Regions from separate parts of the Homo sapiens genome. Here region 2 is linked to region 1. Evidence: promoter capture Hi-C in human tissues and cell types (Jung and others, 2019). All regions are on one chromosome and are shown on one strand. The core of a region is centred on a gene start or on the middle of the fragment in contact, and the rest is flanking DNA. Distances in the headings are between cores, read along the strand shown.

Evidence for each region. The method cuts DNA at HindIII sites, captures the fragments that hold promoters and counts their contacts. A contact is called where the count stands out against the background at its distance.
Region 2: a fragment that was not itself captured here is called in contact with the fragment with the promoter of VIPAS39 in region 1 in 1 of the 25 tissues and cell types used here (lymphoblastoid cells).

Annotation. Positions count from the first base shown.
Region 1 is chr14:77,455,151-77,462,195 of GRCh38, forward strand. It overlaps VIPAS39 (VPS33B interacting protein, apical-basolateral polarity regulator, spe-39 homolog), which reads right to left and starts at 2,451. Exons shown (of 20, transcript NM_001193315.2): 1 at 2,345-2,451. AHSA1 (activator of HSP90 ATPase activity 1) reads left to right here and starts at 2,943. Exons shown (of 9, transcript NM_012111.3): 1 at 2,943-3,119; 2 at 4,466-4,656; 3 at 7,010-7,045. The coding sequence starts at 3,040. RefSeq lists enhancers at 2,249-2,771, 2,390-2,849, 2,772-3,294, 3,020-3,199. The HindIII fragment of the contact is 5,050 bases long and covers 1-4,819 here.
Region 2 is chr14:78,564,592-78,571,636 of GRCh38, forward strand. The region is part of intron 4 of NRXN3 (neurexin 3); the gene reads left to right. Among named protein-coding and RNA genes, the nearest start is that of NRXN3-AS2, 140 kb to the right of the region's middle. The HindIII fragment of the contact is 7,746 bases long and covers 1-7,045 here.

The sequences.
Region 1 (7,045 bases), core at 1,201-3,700:
AATTCAATTTTGCCCTGCAAAAACAAGTTTTGCCCTAGAATTACAAACTAGGCAGGGCACAGTGGCTCATATCTGTAATCTCAGCACTTTGGGAGACTGAGGTGGGAGGATCACCTGAGCCCAAGTTCAAGACTAGCCTGGGCAACATTGTAAAACTGTCTCTACAAAAAAATTTAAAAAACAAAACAAAAAACTAGCTGGACATGGTGACGTAGTCCCAGCTGCTTGGGAGGCTAAGGTGGGAGGATCACCTGAGCTTGGGACGTCGAGGCTGCTATGAGCTGAGATTACACCACTGCACTCCAGCCTGGGTGACACAGTGAGACCCTCCCTATCTCCAAATAAGGAAACAGAATTACAAAGTAAACTATCAATGCCAACAGGATTAGAATGAAAACTATGATTTAAGCCAAGGACTGGGTATAAAACTCCCACAGCACCAAAAATAACTGTAAAGGCTAAACAGCATCAAGTTCTAAAAGAACCATTTGCTTTTCCTTTTAATAGCACCTTCATCAATAAAAGCTTGAGAAAAGCCTTGTCATGGTAGTCCTGTTGAGGCTTTTGATAGCCCTTAAAGATACTCTACTGTTACTTCCTGACTTTGTTTTCAACTCAGGGGATATAGGGATAGCAAGGGTATTGTGGGGATTTTCTACTATCTGGTCCCTTCTCACGGCAGACATCACTAATTGATTTCTACTGGTACAGGGTTGTTTAAAAATCCTTTTCTGTATTTAATTTTAGGGAGATAAACCAAAAATGCTGGCAGACACCATGAAATCATCCCACACAGACATTGTAGTCAGGCAACCTTGAGTTCAAATCCTGGTTTCTCTTAATTCTGAGCAAAGTGGATAAATGACTTTACTTCTAAGCCTTGGAGAAAATTATATCCTATCTCACAGGGTTGCAGGGAACATCTATAAAAGTGTCTAGCAGAAAGTAAATACTAAATGTTATTTCCTTTTAATATGGAATATCATACTGACATTTTTCTGTCTTGGTTTTCCCGTCTGTTAAATGGGCATAACAGATGACCTACCTTAGAAATGGTTCTGAGGAGTAAACCAGTTAATACATGTAAAGTGCTTAGTGCCTGACCCAAAATTAACACTCAATAGTAACTTTTATTATTAATACATCATCCTGGTACCTTGGGAAAAGCTAAAAAAGAAAATATTTTTTAGCAATCCTAAAGATTAAAAAAAATACAAAAATTCTGAGTAGCCACAAATGCTGAAGATGTGTATAGAACATATAAATGTCTCTGGCACACATGTCAGTTCATAAATCACTCTGTCATTCGTTTGATCCTCAGAACAATCTTGTAAGGTAGGCCTGGGAGATTCCATTTCCATGTTACTCATGGGGAAAGTGAGGCACAAAAGAGTTCAGTATCAAAGCCACTTTGTTAAATGCTCCTATTTCAAATTACAATCCAGGCTTTCTGGCTCCTAGACCATTTCTAGTGTCTTGCATGGTCCTTCTACCTATTTTTCACTTTCCAGAAAACTAGAGATCATTCCTTCACTATAGTAATTATCTACAGATAGACATAGAATGTGTCTAACAAACACAATAATCTACCAGAGGATTTCTGGAATCTTTTTAACCATGCAATGGCAGTAGACAACTGCCATCAATTTGTATTTATAACGCCAAATGAGAAGCTAGGTTTACTTGGCAAGTATAGATAATGATCTAGTGGCTCTAGAGTTATAAAGTAATCAGGTACGATTGTCACTCTTAAGAGTGACAGGTGCTTCAACATGATTTAAAATACTTCAGAGGTTTGTCTTTATCGTCTCTTGTTTACTGACAGCCCACAAGGCAGGGTGAGAGACCTCAGGGGAGAACAGGAACTTTACAAAGGAAAACAGAAGAATCAGCAAGAAAACCACAACATGCTCCCTGCCTCAGAAAACTCCAAAAACCACCTACTGAGAAGTCAGACTTGGTTTCAATTATCTTCCGAGCCAGGAAGATACAGGTGAGGCTTGTGAACTGAGACCAGGGAACAAGAGTTAAGCTAGGATGACTCTACGGGTGAACGTCCAGGAAGCCATGGATCTACCGCAGTCGTCAGAGCCCAGCGGATCCCTGGCAGAGTTAAATGCTCGTTCTGAACCAAATGTCCGCTTCCGAACCAATCGCTGGTGCTCACTCGCAGCCCCAGTCCCAAGCGTACTCCAGCGCCCAAGGGTCGCCCTGACTGAAAGAAGAGAATCAGGCCTGTAGTCATAGGGTGTAGGGATGCCTCCTAGAAGAGGGGAAAAGATCAAGATGCGGAGAGGCTGGATCCAGCCAGATACGCGACCCAAGGGGCTTGGGACACCCTCACCTCTTCCGCACAGAGCCCTCCCTCTCAGGACAGCGCCAGCCTCCGCCGCCGCTGGACCAGCCCTTCTATTCAGGCTGTGCAGCTTAGAGAAGGGGGCGGAAGGGAATAATCGTAGGGCGGAGAGAAAACACGAATAACGAGACCGCAGGGCATGCTGGAAGTCGTAGTTTCTTCTGCCTCTGCTGTCAGGCGCTGTCCCGACGAACCACAAGGCTTCTTGACTACAGCCCCCAGAAACCCCAAGCACCGTGCTAGGTCATTTCCTCTCCTTTCCGCGAGACCTTCCGCGGTTATCCAGCGAGTCACGTAGCAAGACTACAATTCCCATGAGGCTCAGCAAGGGCGATTTAGGGTCCAGGGAAGCAATGAGACGTGTTCTTTGTTTTCCTATGGGTGAGGAATGGTTGTATGAGCAGTTGGGTTTCGGGACGCTTTTTGGGGAGAACCCGATGGAGTCTGAAGGATCTCTAAATCAGGCGGAACCCACGGTGCGGCGAGTTGGGACGGAAGTAACCGGTGGGAGTGGGGAGGAGCCGGAAGTTAAGGAGGGGAGGGGGTGGAGGGAAAAGCAAGCCAGGAGGTGCTTGCGGCCGCTTCTAGTAGTTTCCAGGCGCTGCCGGGCGGCTGGCACTAAGCGGTCCTGAGGCTGTGGCTACGGCTGCTCCGGAGCTGGTGGCGCCGCGATAGGAGAGCCGATGGCCAAGTGGGGTGAGGGAGACCCACGCTGGATCGTGGAGGAGCGGGCGGACGCCACCAACGTCAACAACTGGCACTGGTGAGGGCCAGAAAAGCAGGCCGGCCTTGGGAGACCTGCGGCCGGGCCAGGGTTTCAGGGTTCCTAGAACCTCGGCCCGGACAGAGCTGGGGCTGAGGTAGCCCTGTCCGGAGATGGGGGTGGGTCCTTCCTGTGGCAGGGGTCCGTAGCCCCAGGCCTCTCCACTCCGCGGTCACCTTCTCAGTGTTTGAGGGGAGGGAGATGGACGTGGAGGGCTGCGCCCCAGAGGAGGGTTGTCAGAGAGACTAGGAGATAACGCCCTGGCTGCTGCATCCAGCCCGAGCAGGGAGGTGCTTATTACACGTGGCCAGAGGAGTCACTGAGACTGGAACCTCCTTTGATTGTGTTGGGAGATAGCTGTGAAAGGCCTAAGGCCAGGGGTCTGTAATTCCTATTTTGCGGCCTGCGGTAAAATTAAAAGTCATTCATAGGGGACCGCTGCAGCGGTCCCGCGGGAGATTGAGAACGTGTTGTGCAGGTGCTCAGAGCTCAGATAGCTGCGGCCTCTCACCCGGAACTATCAGGTCGGGTGTGTTGGAACTCCAGGTTGCCGAGCAGCCGTGGTTTTATAACCTGACCGTTCTTAAAATAACTGCCCTCCTTCATGAAATCTTCCCAAAGTAATATTAGTTTCCTTATTTTTGAATTCCACTGAACTTTTTTCGTAATGTTTGTATTGTACCGTTACTTTGTTGCAGCCTTTTTTGCTGTTGTTTTCTCTAATAGTTGATAAGTAGGAAGGCAGATAGTGATGTTTCTTTTCCATATCTCACTTTGTATTCTCTCTTCTTAACATGCAGAGTACTTGACCTAATTTTTGTTGTTTGTTTTGAAGCCCTGGACTTAACGTTTTTGTGGCCATCTAGGGGACAGTGAATGTGTAGGAAGTTTATAATGCAAGTGCGAATCTGATAGGTCAGAACACCGTGCCAATGAGGTCAGGGTTATTGGTTTAATCCTTTCTGGGCCTTTTAGCTAAGTACTATTCTTTCATGGTCCAGTCTGTGTTCCTGATCTCAGCAATATGTGCAGTTTTCCACTTGGTCAAATGGGGGCGCCATGTTAAAGTATCAAGTATTCCCCCGCACCATCATGCCGAGAAAGGAGAGCATAATTTTCCATTGAGTTTATACCATTTTCTACAGCAGCTGTCTTTGTTGACAGTGTGCAACCCCTTGTCTTCCTAAAAAAGAATGACATGTTTGTGGACATACTGGAGTGCGACTGGGAGTTTTTGTGTTCTTTTCAAACTATTTGTCAGGCCTCCTTTAACCTCGTATTCTCTTGCATAGAGCAGCGTATCCTCCGTTTGACTGCTGGTTCATAGCTCTGTTTCTGCTTTGCAGGACGGAGAGAGATGCTTCAAATTGGTCCACGGATAAGCTGAAAACACTGTTCCTGGCAGTGCAGGTTCAAAATGAAGAAGGCAAGTGTGAGGTGACGGAAGTGAGTAAGCTTGATGGAGAGGCATCCATTAACAATCGCAAAGGGAAACTTATCTTCTTTTATGAATGGAGCGTCAAACTAAACTGGACAGGTAAGTCTAAGCTGGGCTGTCAGAGAGATTAACTGTGTTTTGTTTAACCTGTTAAGTAGCTGGAGAGAACAGTTTTGAGGAGTTACAGACCTTGAAGGGAGAAGGCAGATGTTGCTGCTTTGGAGTCCTATGTAAAGCAGTATCGAGTCCTGGAATTTCTTTGCCATTGTGGGATGCTAAATGGATTTCCTGTGTCTGGGTCTCATAAGTCCCATCCATGAAGTGGCCGGGCCACTGCATCTTTGGGCCTTGGTCTTTGTTGGGACACCTACGATGATATTTCTTCAGACTAGCTACATGTATCTTGTGAGTGATTTAAAAGGAGGAAGGAGAGGATTTTTTTGGTCTTGATCTTTGTGCACTGTCTTCAGTGTGAATCTTAACAGATTAAACCACTGCGCTAATGAAGCTTGTGTGTGACAGTAATTTGGGGCTGTTTTATCTATCTTCTAGTTTTATGTCCCTTGTGTATGACATTAGGAAAAAATTGAGGTCATGCGTATGACCGTTTTGGACAGTCCTGACTGTCGGGAGCCTGAATGTAAAAAGGCACTAAAGCTAAGGGAGTATGAGATAGCTACTGTCTGTGTATGGGGCAAAGCATGAAATTTGTGCTTTGATAAACATTTCCGAAGTGAACAGTCATATCATAAAGAAGGGTGCAAGTAGATCTATCTGTCCATGATTTTTGTTAATTTGTTTTTAAAGTACACTCGAAGCATAGTAGTGTGGAAGGAATCTTCGGTGTCATCTTGCTCAGACCTCCTTTTTTTTTTTTTAGACAGAGTTTTGCTCGTCACCCAGGCTGGAGTGCAGTGGCACGATCTTGGCTCACTGCAACCTCCACTTCCCGGGTTTAACCAGTTCTCCTGCCTCAGCCTCCCAAGTAGGATTACAGGTGCCCGCCACCACGCCCGGCTAATTTTGTATTTTTATTAGAGATGGGTTTCACCATGTTGGCCAGGCTGGTCTCGAACTGTGTCTGGCCGACGCTTTTTTTTTTTAATATAGGGACTAAAAATTGGTAGCATAGTTTTGTGCACATTAAATGGTAAGAAATAGATAAATATAGGCCGGGCGTGGTGGCTAACGCCTGTAATCCCAGCACTTTGGGAGGCCAAGGTGGGCGGATCACGAGGTCAGGAGATCAAGACCATCCTGGCTGACACAGTGAAACCCCGTCTCTACTAAAAATACAAAAAATTAGCCCGGCGTGGTGGCATGTGCCTGTAGTCCCAGCTACTCGGGAGGCTGAGGCAGGAGAATCGCTTGAACCCAGGAGGCGGAGGTTGCAGTGAGCTGGGATCGCACCGTTGCACTCCAGCCTGGGCAACAGAGTGAGACTCCATCTCAAAAAAAATAAAAAATAGGTGAATACTACAATAAATATGGTGCTTTACCATGAAAAAGACCTGAAGTTTATTTGTGAAAGTGGGCATCAAAGCCAGGCGCGGCGGCTCACGCCTGTAATCTCAGCACTTTGGGAGACTGAGGCAGGTGGATCACGAGGTCAGGAATTGGAGACACACCTGGCCAACATGGTGAAACCCCATCTCTACTAAAAAATACAAAAATTAGCCGTGTGTAGTGGCACGCACCTGTAATCCCAGCTACTTGGGAGGCTGAAGCAGAAGAATTGCTTGAACCTGGGAGGTGGAGGTTGCAATGAGCCAAGATCATGCCACTGCAATCCAGCCTGAGCGACAGAGCAAGACTCTGTCTTGCGGGGGGAAAAGGTGGGCATCAGAAGGGTTGCAGCTTGAGGACTACTATGGAATGGTAGAAGGAGAGTCATCCACAATCAGAGGGAACATTACACTCGTTGAGGATGGGTATGGCTCACAACACACGCTGTAAACTGAGGTCATTGGCAGATAGGTGTTTGAGATGTGTGTGTTTTATGTATCCTGTGTAGCTGGGTGAGGCTTTCCGTATTCACCTAGTGTTTCTCATGGATGGAGTCACATATAAGCAAACATGAACTTCTCATTATAATCAAATTGTTCCCTAATATTTCAGTTGCACTGAAATAAATTGATATTTTCAAAACAAGTATTCTAGCAGAACTACTGGCTTTTGACCCAAGTTCTCATGGTATAACTCATGCTAGTACCAAATCTGTAGCTCTTTGTCTCACATTGTAATAACATAGTTGGTTTCCAGTAACCTGGTGAGGAAAGACATTTCTTTTGGGGGTGCGGGTGTTGATTGCATCTGGCATGTGGCATTCTCAGAATAAAGAGGATCAGTTCAGCCATCCAAAAGCAGCAGAAGTGAGGTAGCAGTTAGGACCCTGGAGCAGAGACCTTTCCTGCCAAGGAGTGGACTAATGACATTGCATTGGTTTTGACAGGTACTTCTAAGTCAGGAGTACAATACAAAGGACATG
Region 2 (7,045 bases), core at 1,982-4,481, 1.1 Mb after region 1:
AACTTATGTATTGTACCTTTCCTTCTTGGAATCAAGTCCTTGGCCTGGTAATGAAGGTCCTTCGATCTGGTCTGCATTTTCCAGCTCCATCTCCTACTAATCTTTATATCCTTATCTACTGTTTCCCTAGGCTGTTGTCTTCACGGCCGCCATGGTAGGTTTTGCCTATCATCCCAAACCTTGTGCAGGCCTACCACAGTACTTGACATATGGTGGGGGTCTCAGTCAGTATTCTCCCCTATATTTAGAACCCTTCCACTAGATCTTGTCTTCATATTTTTGATTCCTGCTCAGGGATCAGATTATGTTCCATGTCCTCCACTGAGCCTTTTCTGACCTCCTCAGCGCACTCAGTGCCGTTCCCTCTCTGAATTTCTAAAGTGCTCAGCAGCAGCAGCACTCATTTGGCACTTGGTATATACTATCTTATGCTATTTTGTATGACCATATGTTGTCTATACAACTACATTATAAGCACCTGATAGGGATAACTGTGCCCTGTGTGTTTTTCCTATCCCTTTGATTCTAAGATAGTTCCTTGAACATTGAAGATGCTCAGTTAATATTCATTTATTAAGTAGATAGATCAAGGAGTAAATGAAAGCAAGGATCCTAAGAAGCCTGCCTTTTGGTGCCAATCTATTCAATTTGGAATTCACAAACTTACCTAAAACAAGGCCTTTCAATTTCCTGTTTCCCCTGTAAACAGAGCTCTACCACCAGGATTTCTCAGAAGCTCTTTCTCCACACTGAACCCTAAAACTGAAGGTTCAGGTAGAGAGCTTTTCCAGTGTGAGAGAATTTTTAAAGCATCTGGGGTTTGGCACATCCAGTGCTTTGAAAATCAAGGTGTCTTGATCATTGGGTGAAGGGGATTAGAACAGCAGGCTGTGTTTTCAAGTTCAAGTCCATAAGCAGACAGGAATAGAATCCCACAAGAGTTTGTTCTGTCTCTGCCATTTACTAGTTAATCTCTCTATGCCTCAATTTCCCCATTTGTAAAATGGATTTAATAATGGCTGTCTACCTTATAAGGTTGCTATGAGGTGCCAGTGTGATAATAAACGTAAAAGTACTTTGAATATTGCAAAACACTGTATGAATGTCAGGAATTAGGCAGGCAACAACTATTTCTTGGGGGTTTGTTCTGCATGTAGCCCTGCACTATGTGTAGATAGAGGCCTCTGTACATTACAGAAGACTGGCAGAGGCATTGGGGATTCATCATGGCTGGAATTCTGGTTCTCAGATAGATGAAAGCTGGAAAAAGTATTATAGCCTAGCAATCACATCTGAAAGGTTGGCAGCAACAATTGAGTCAGAGAAGACGGGAGGTGAAGTATTGGCAAAAATTTGACCCTGGTCATTCTTTGAACACTTCAGATTTCCACAGATTCTATCCCTTTAACATTTCTGAACGTTATGATTTTGCTTCCTCCCCACACTGGCAGCTCTGCCTCAATGAAACCGTGTTGCTTTTTTGGTTGATCAATTGTGCCCAACTTCCTGATCATACTTGTCCTGAGAGCCTGTGTTAAGCTCATGCCGGCTCTCCCACCCCGCCCCCAACGCCGGCCAAAAAAAAGACTCTCTAAAAACAGGTGCCCCCGATGATCTCACACTGCTGCTGGCATTGGCAGCAGCCCAGAAGGGCCAAATGGTGACTTCAGGTCCAGGGAGGCTACTGTCCTCAGCTCTGTTTTCATGTAAATGTCGCTCCTGCTGAAAGGAAGTGGATGCAAAAAAATATCTGCTATGGAAGCAGAACTACCCCAGACTAAAATGTTGGTTTTTTTTTTTTTCTCTCCCCCTTTTCTTTTCCTTCAAGTTTTCCATGTGGCATCAGCAGCTGAGTAAGGGAAAGCTAAGAGGTTTAAGTGTGCTGGGGCTGGGTGGGCTAGATTAATAACCCAAAGCCTTCCAAGCTGGCGGTGCTGGGTGAGACAGGCCAACCAGAAAGCGTTAGGTTATGGGGAGCCCTGGCCACAGAGCCAGACCCTACCAGGGTGGAAGGTGAAGGAGCAGCGAGCTCTGCGTGCTTGCCCCGAGCCCCCACCTTCCTTCCTTCCTCCTCCCTCTGGTTTCTTTCCTCCCATTTTATCGAGTCCCTCTGAGATGGCTGCGCACCAGTGGCTCCAGCCTCTGACCGTTGCTGCCCTCTGCTGGGAAGAAAGCTTTACTCGGTGTGGAAAGTGCTAAGCTCTACCAGGGACCAGCTTAATGCAGACCAAGTCCACAGTCTGTGGCTAGTGTGTGATTTGGCCCAGAGGAAGGAAGGACAATTCAGAAAACCCTTGCACCACAGTGTTTCCCTAGTGGTTTCAGGTGGGGGCAGGACTTTGGAATCTATTAGGGAAGGATTGCTTGAATCCTCAGAGTTCTCTGTTCAAGAGGAACATCCCTGGGAGAGGAGCCTCCTGGCTCCTCTTTACCTGGGTCAGACATGATGTATGGAGACTCCACCATGGATGACCCTTAAATATGATGGATGGCTTTAGTTACAGGACACAATTCTTTCTCAAGGGAAGGTGACCAAAAGAAGTTGGGTCTTGAAGGGGCTGCAGGATGGGCCTGGAAGTCTCTTGGCTCTAAAGGAACCATCATAGAATGGGGATTCTGAGCAACCAGGAAGCAGCAGAAAAATATGCAAAGCCAGATGGGAGTGGGGAATATTGCCCATTAATGGGCAAGAGTACATAGAAAGGTAGATAATAAACTGGCTTCACCACTTCTCAACTTTCCCCAGAGCTGGCTGTGCCAGTAAACTGTGCTCAGCTGGCTTTGGATGAGAGAAGGACAAGAGGGTGCCTATCTCCAGCATGGCTGTGGGGTCGCCCTGCTCCATCTCTGGATCTTCAGCCTAGAGTGCAGCCCAGCCAAACAAGAGCGATGACCTCACTGACCACATGTAATTCTGCTTGAGGGATTTATTTTCTTCCATGAGCTCCTGCCAAGACTCTTGGTTAAAGCTAATGGGGCTCCCCCAGCCAGTGAGTGTCTCCTAGTTATATGTGTAAACAACGCCAGGCAGGAAATAGGTTTCCTGTTCTTAATGGGCTTGTTAAACCTCTTATCGAGTGGGGTTTAAATGGCTTTATTATGAATAATAATAATAGTAAATAAACATTATTATTATTAGTAGTAGAAAAATTATGATGTCAGCCCTGACTACCCCTTCTCATTTTAATCTTGCCAACGTGGAGGTCTTTGGCCTCTAAGTGCACAGGAATATGGTGAGTGACACTGGGACTTATAACTGGAGAAGATGGCAGAATTCATCTTCGTTGCCTGCAGCTTTCCAATCCTGAGCCCTTTTCCACTTTCATCGTGTTTCCATCTCCATCATTCCTTTCATTCAGGGTTTTCATGATCTTATTCTATCAGAGAAGATAGAACTACACATCCCTCTCCTTCTCAGTTTTATTTAGCATTGAAAGCCATGGACAGAGGTTCTGAGGTTAAATTGAGGTATCGGGTAGAGGGGATTTTGGAGAGAGCAGTGGATGCTGGTAGGGGAGCTCAGTTGGAAGTGGGGCTCATGTTCTGATCTTCAGTGCCGAATGTCTGTGTCCCTCCCTCAGATTTACATGTTGAAACGTAATCACCAATGTGATGGTATTAGGAGGGGGGCCTTTTGGGAGGTTAGTAAGTCATGAGTGCTTTGGGATTAGTGCTCTTATAAAATAGGCCCAAGGGAGCTTGTTCACCCCTTCCACCATGGAAAGACAGAAGAAGAACTAGAAGCCACCATCTATGAACCAGGAGGTAGCCCTCACCTGATGCCAAATCTTCCAGCACCTTAATCTTGGACTTCCAAGCCCCCAGAATTGTCAGATACAAATTTTTGTTGTTTATAAGCTACCCAGTTTATGGCATTTTGTTGTAGCCACCTGAACAGATTGAGATATCCAGTTTATAGCTGGAACTGGAGGTATACCAGGTATCCCAGACTTTGGTAATTTATGTATCAGGTTCACTATTTTCACCATAACTCCCTACAACAGTATTGATTTTCTTTACACCGATTATCTTGTTTGACTTAAGTAGATTTGGCATCATCTTACAAGCAATATGTCTTTGAAATCCTGGGTTCAATGTGTTAGCCAGGTTTTTTACTGACTGCATATTGAAATGAATATCTAAGAGCTAAATATTTTTTCCTAAAGTTCATCATGTGGCAAATGTGTCACACCCTCCAGGGAAAACATACCACAACATCTGGAGACACTGCTATAGGGTAGTGGTTCTTAAACTTTAGTGGGCATGAGAAACACTGGCAGAGCTTCTACCAGAAACACTGGTAGATAGCTGTGCTCTTCCCCAGAGAATCTGATTCAGCAGGTCTGTGGTGGGAAATATGACTTTGCAGGTTTTTTTTTTTTTTTTTTTTTTTTGAGACAGGGTCTCATTCTGTCACCCAGGCTGGAGTGCAGTGGCGCGGTCTTGGCTCACTGCCAGCTCTGCCTCCCAGGTTCACACCATTCTTCTGCCTCAGCCTCCTGAGTAGCTGGGACTACAGGCGCCAGCCACCACGCCTGGCTAATTTTTTGTATTTTTAGTAGAGATGGGGTTTCACCGTGTTAGCCAGGATGGTCTCGATCTCCTGATCTCAGGTGATCTTCCCGCCTCGGCCTCCCAAAGTGCTGGGATTGCAGGCATGAGCCACTGTGCCCGGCCTTTTCTTTATTTTTTGAGACAGAGTCTCATTCTGTCACCCAGGCTGGAGTGCAGCAGCGTGGTCTCGGCTCACTGCAAGCTCCGCCTCCCGGGTTCACGCCATTCTCCTGCCTCAGCCTTCTGAGTAGCTGGGACTACAGGTGCCCACTACCACGCCCAGCTAATTTTTTGTATTTTTAGTAGAGACGGGGTTTCACCATGTTAGCAAGGGTGGTCTCAATCTCCTGACCTCGTGATCCACCCATCTCGGCCTCCCAAAGTGCTGGGATTACAGGGGTGAGCCACCGCGTCCGGCCGCCTTTTATTTTTTTTTGAGATGGAGTCTCCCTCTGTCACCCAGGCTGGAGTGCAGTGGCACAATCTCAGCTCACTGCAACCTCCACCTTCTGGGTTCAAGCAATTCTGCTTCAGCCTTCAAGTAGCTGAGACTACAGGCACCCGCCCCCACACCCAGCTAATTTTTGTATTTTTAGTAGAGATGGGGTTTGACCATGCTGGCCAGGCTGGTCTCAAACTCCTGATCTCAAGTGATCTACCCGCCTCGGCCTCCCAAAGTGTCCAGAACTCCTAGACTCAAGCGATCCTCCTGCCTCAGCCTCCTGAGTAGCTGCGACTACGGGCTTGCACCCGGAAACTGCAGTTCTAACAGTTGCTCAAGAGATGTTGATATCCAGGGGCCACACTGGCAGTGGCACTGGCCTGGAGAATAAGGGCCTGTTCTCCATTTCCACATGTGAAAATTTCCTCATTTGAAAATGGGGATAATGTGTGCTGTATAAAATGAAATAATTTTTTCTTGGTGCCAATCTGTCTATGCAATGGAATGTTTGTGTCTCCCCAAAATTCACATGTGGAAGCCCTAACTGCCAATGTGATATTAGGAGATAGAGCCTTTGGGAGGTAATTAGATCATAAGGGTGAGGTCCTTAGAATGAAATCCATGCCCTTAGAAAAAGGACCCCAGAGAGTTCCCTCACCCTCTTTCTGCCATGTCAGGATACAATGAGAAGTAAGAAGTCTGCAGTACAGAAGAGGGCTATCACCAGAAGCTGACCATGCTGGCACCATAATCTTAGACTTCCAGAATGCAGTACTGTGAGAAATAAATTTCTATTGTTTATAAGCCACCCAGTCTATGGTACTTAGTTATAGAAGCCCAGATGGAGTAAGCCAACCTGTTTGGAGTGTTTTTGAGCTGTCATGCTTTTCAGGTTCAGCTTAAAGCTCAGATGGGAAATACAGGAACTTCTGCAGGTTAATTCTGGTTCTAAGTTCAAGTCCTAAGAATAAGCCCATTATGCAATTCTGGGTGGCCAAGCAGTTCTCCAGCAGCCCCCAGGAAGTATTCTATCTCACAGAATCCTGGCAAAAGGAGACAGTCTTCTCAGTCTGGTCAAGGGCTATGTTGAGTGTGAGGGAACAGAGGTGAATGTCCCTTGCTGTGCTCACCATGTTCTGAGAGACAGGCAGACAAAGCGTAATTTACAATTTGATTAAGTGATTGCATTGGTGACTTTTTAAAGCCGCCCAGTAGTTGAGCCCCCTTTCTGCATTTGGAAGTTTACCCGTATGAGTCTAAAAGGGAGACAGGGCCCTCATTCCATGACTGAGGCCCCCAAAGTCTAGTCTCACTTTCCTCAGTCTCAGTGAGCCACAGAAGCCAGGCTCAGTGTCTGGGAGGAGAAATCCTCTCTGATGGTGGCAGGGGTGGGGACAGCAGCCCCGCTGGGCCCTGTGGGGACAGTCCCAGCAGCAGACAGTCCCAGTTGGGCTTATCCTGTGATGTTGGCCTCACTGTCTTGGCAGCCTCTGGCATTTCTGTTCTCTGTTCATCTTCCACATATGGTTCTCAGGTTCACTCATCAAATCCCTTCCCATTTCACCCAATCAATAATGCTGAACTAATAATGGTTTTTAGAGCAGGGAAGTGGCACAATCACAACTTATTTTAAAGATAACTGACCACTCTCTGGAGCATGGATTGGAGGATGAGTGACTCAAGGTGGGGTGACTAGTGAGGAGGTGATGAAGGAGATGAGAGGAAAGAGGAAGAAACACTCACAGAGTAAACCTGGCCATATCTAATGACTGGAAGCCTGAGTTTCTCTTCAAACTCAGAAGAGAAAAATGAATTTATGGTTTTGGGCGCAGCTTTAGTTTTGTCTTTGGGGATGAGTATGTATTTTGTTGGGAAGGTGGATGCCCTGAAGCAGGGTTGGGAAACAAGATTAGAGGTTTTTGAATAAGACTGTGTTTGAATACAGCTTGGCTATGGTCTTCTCCATTTCAAGTCTGTTCAACTTAACAAATATTGAGCCCTTACTAGGTGTCAGACATTCTTGGGTATTTAGAATACAGTATATTTTGA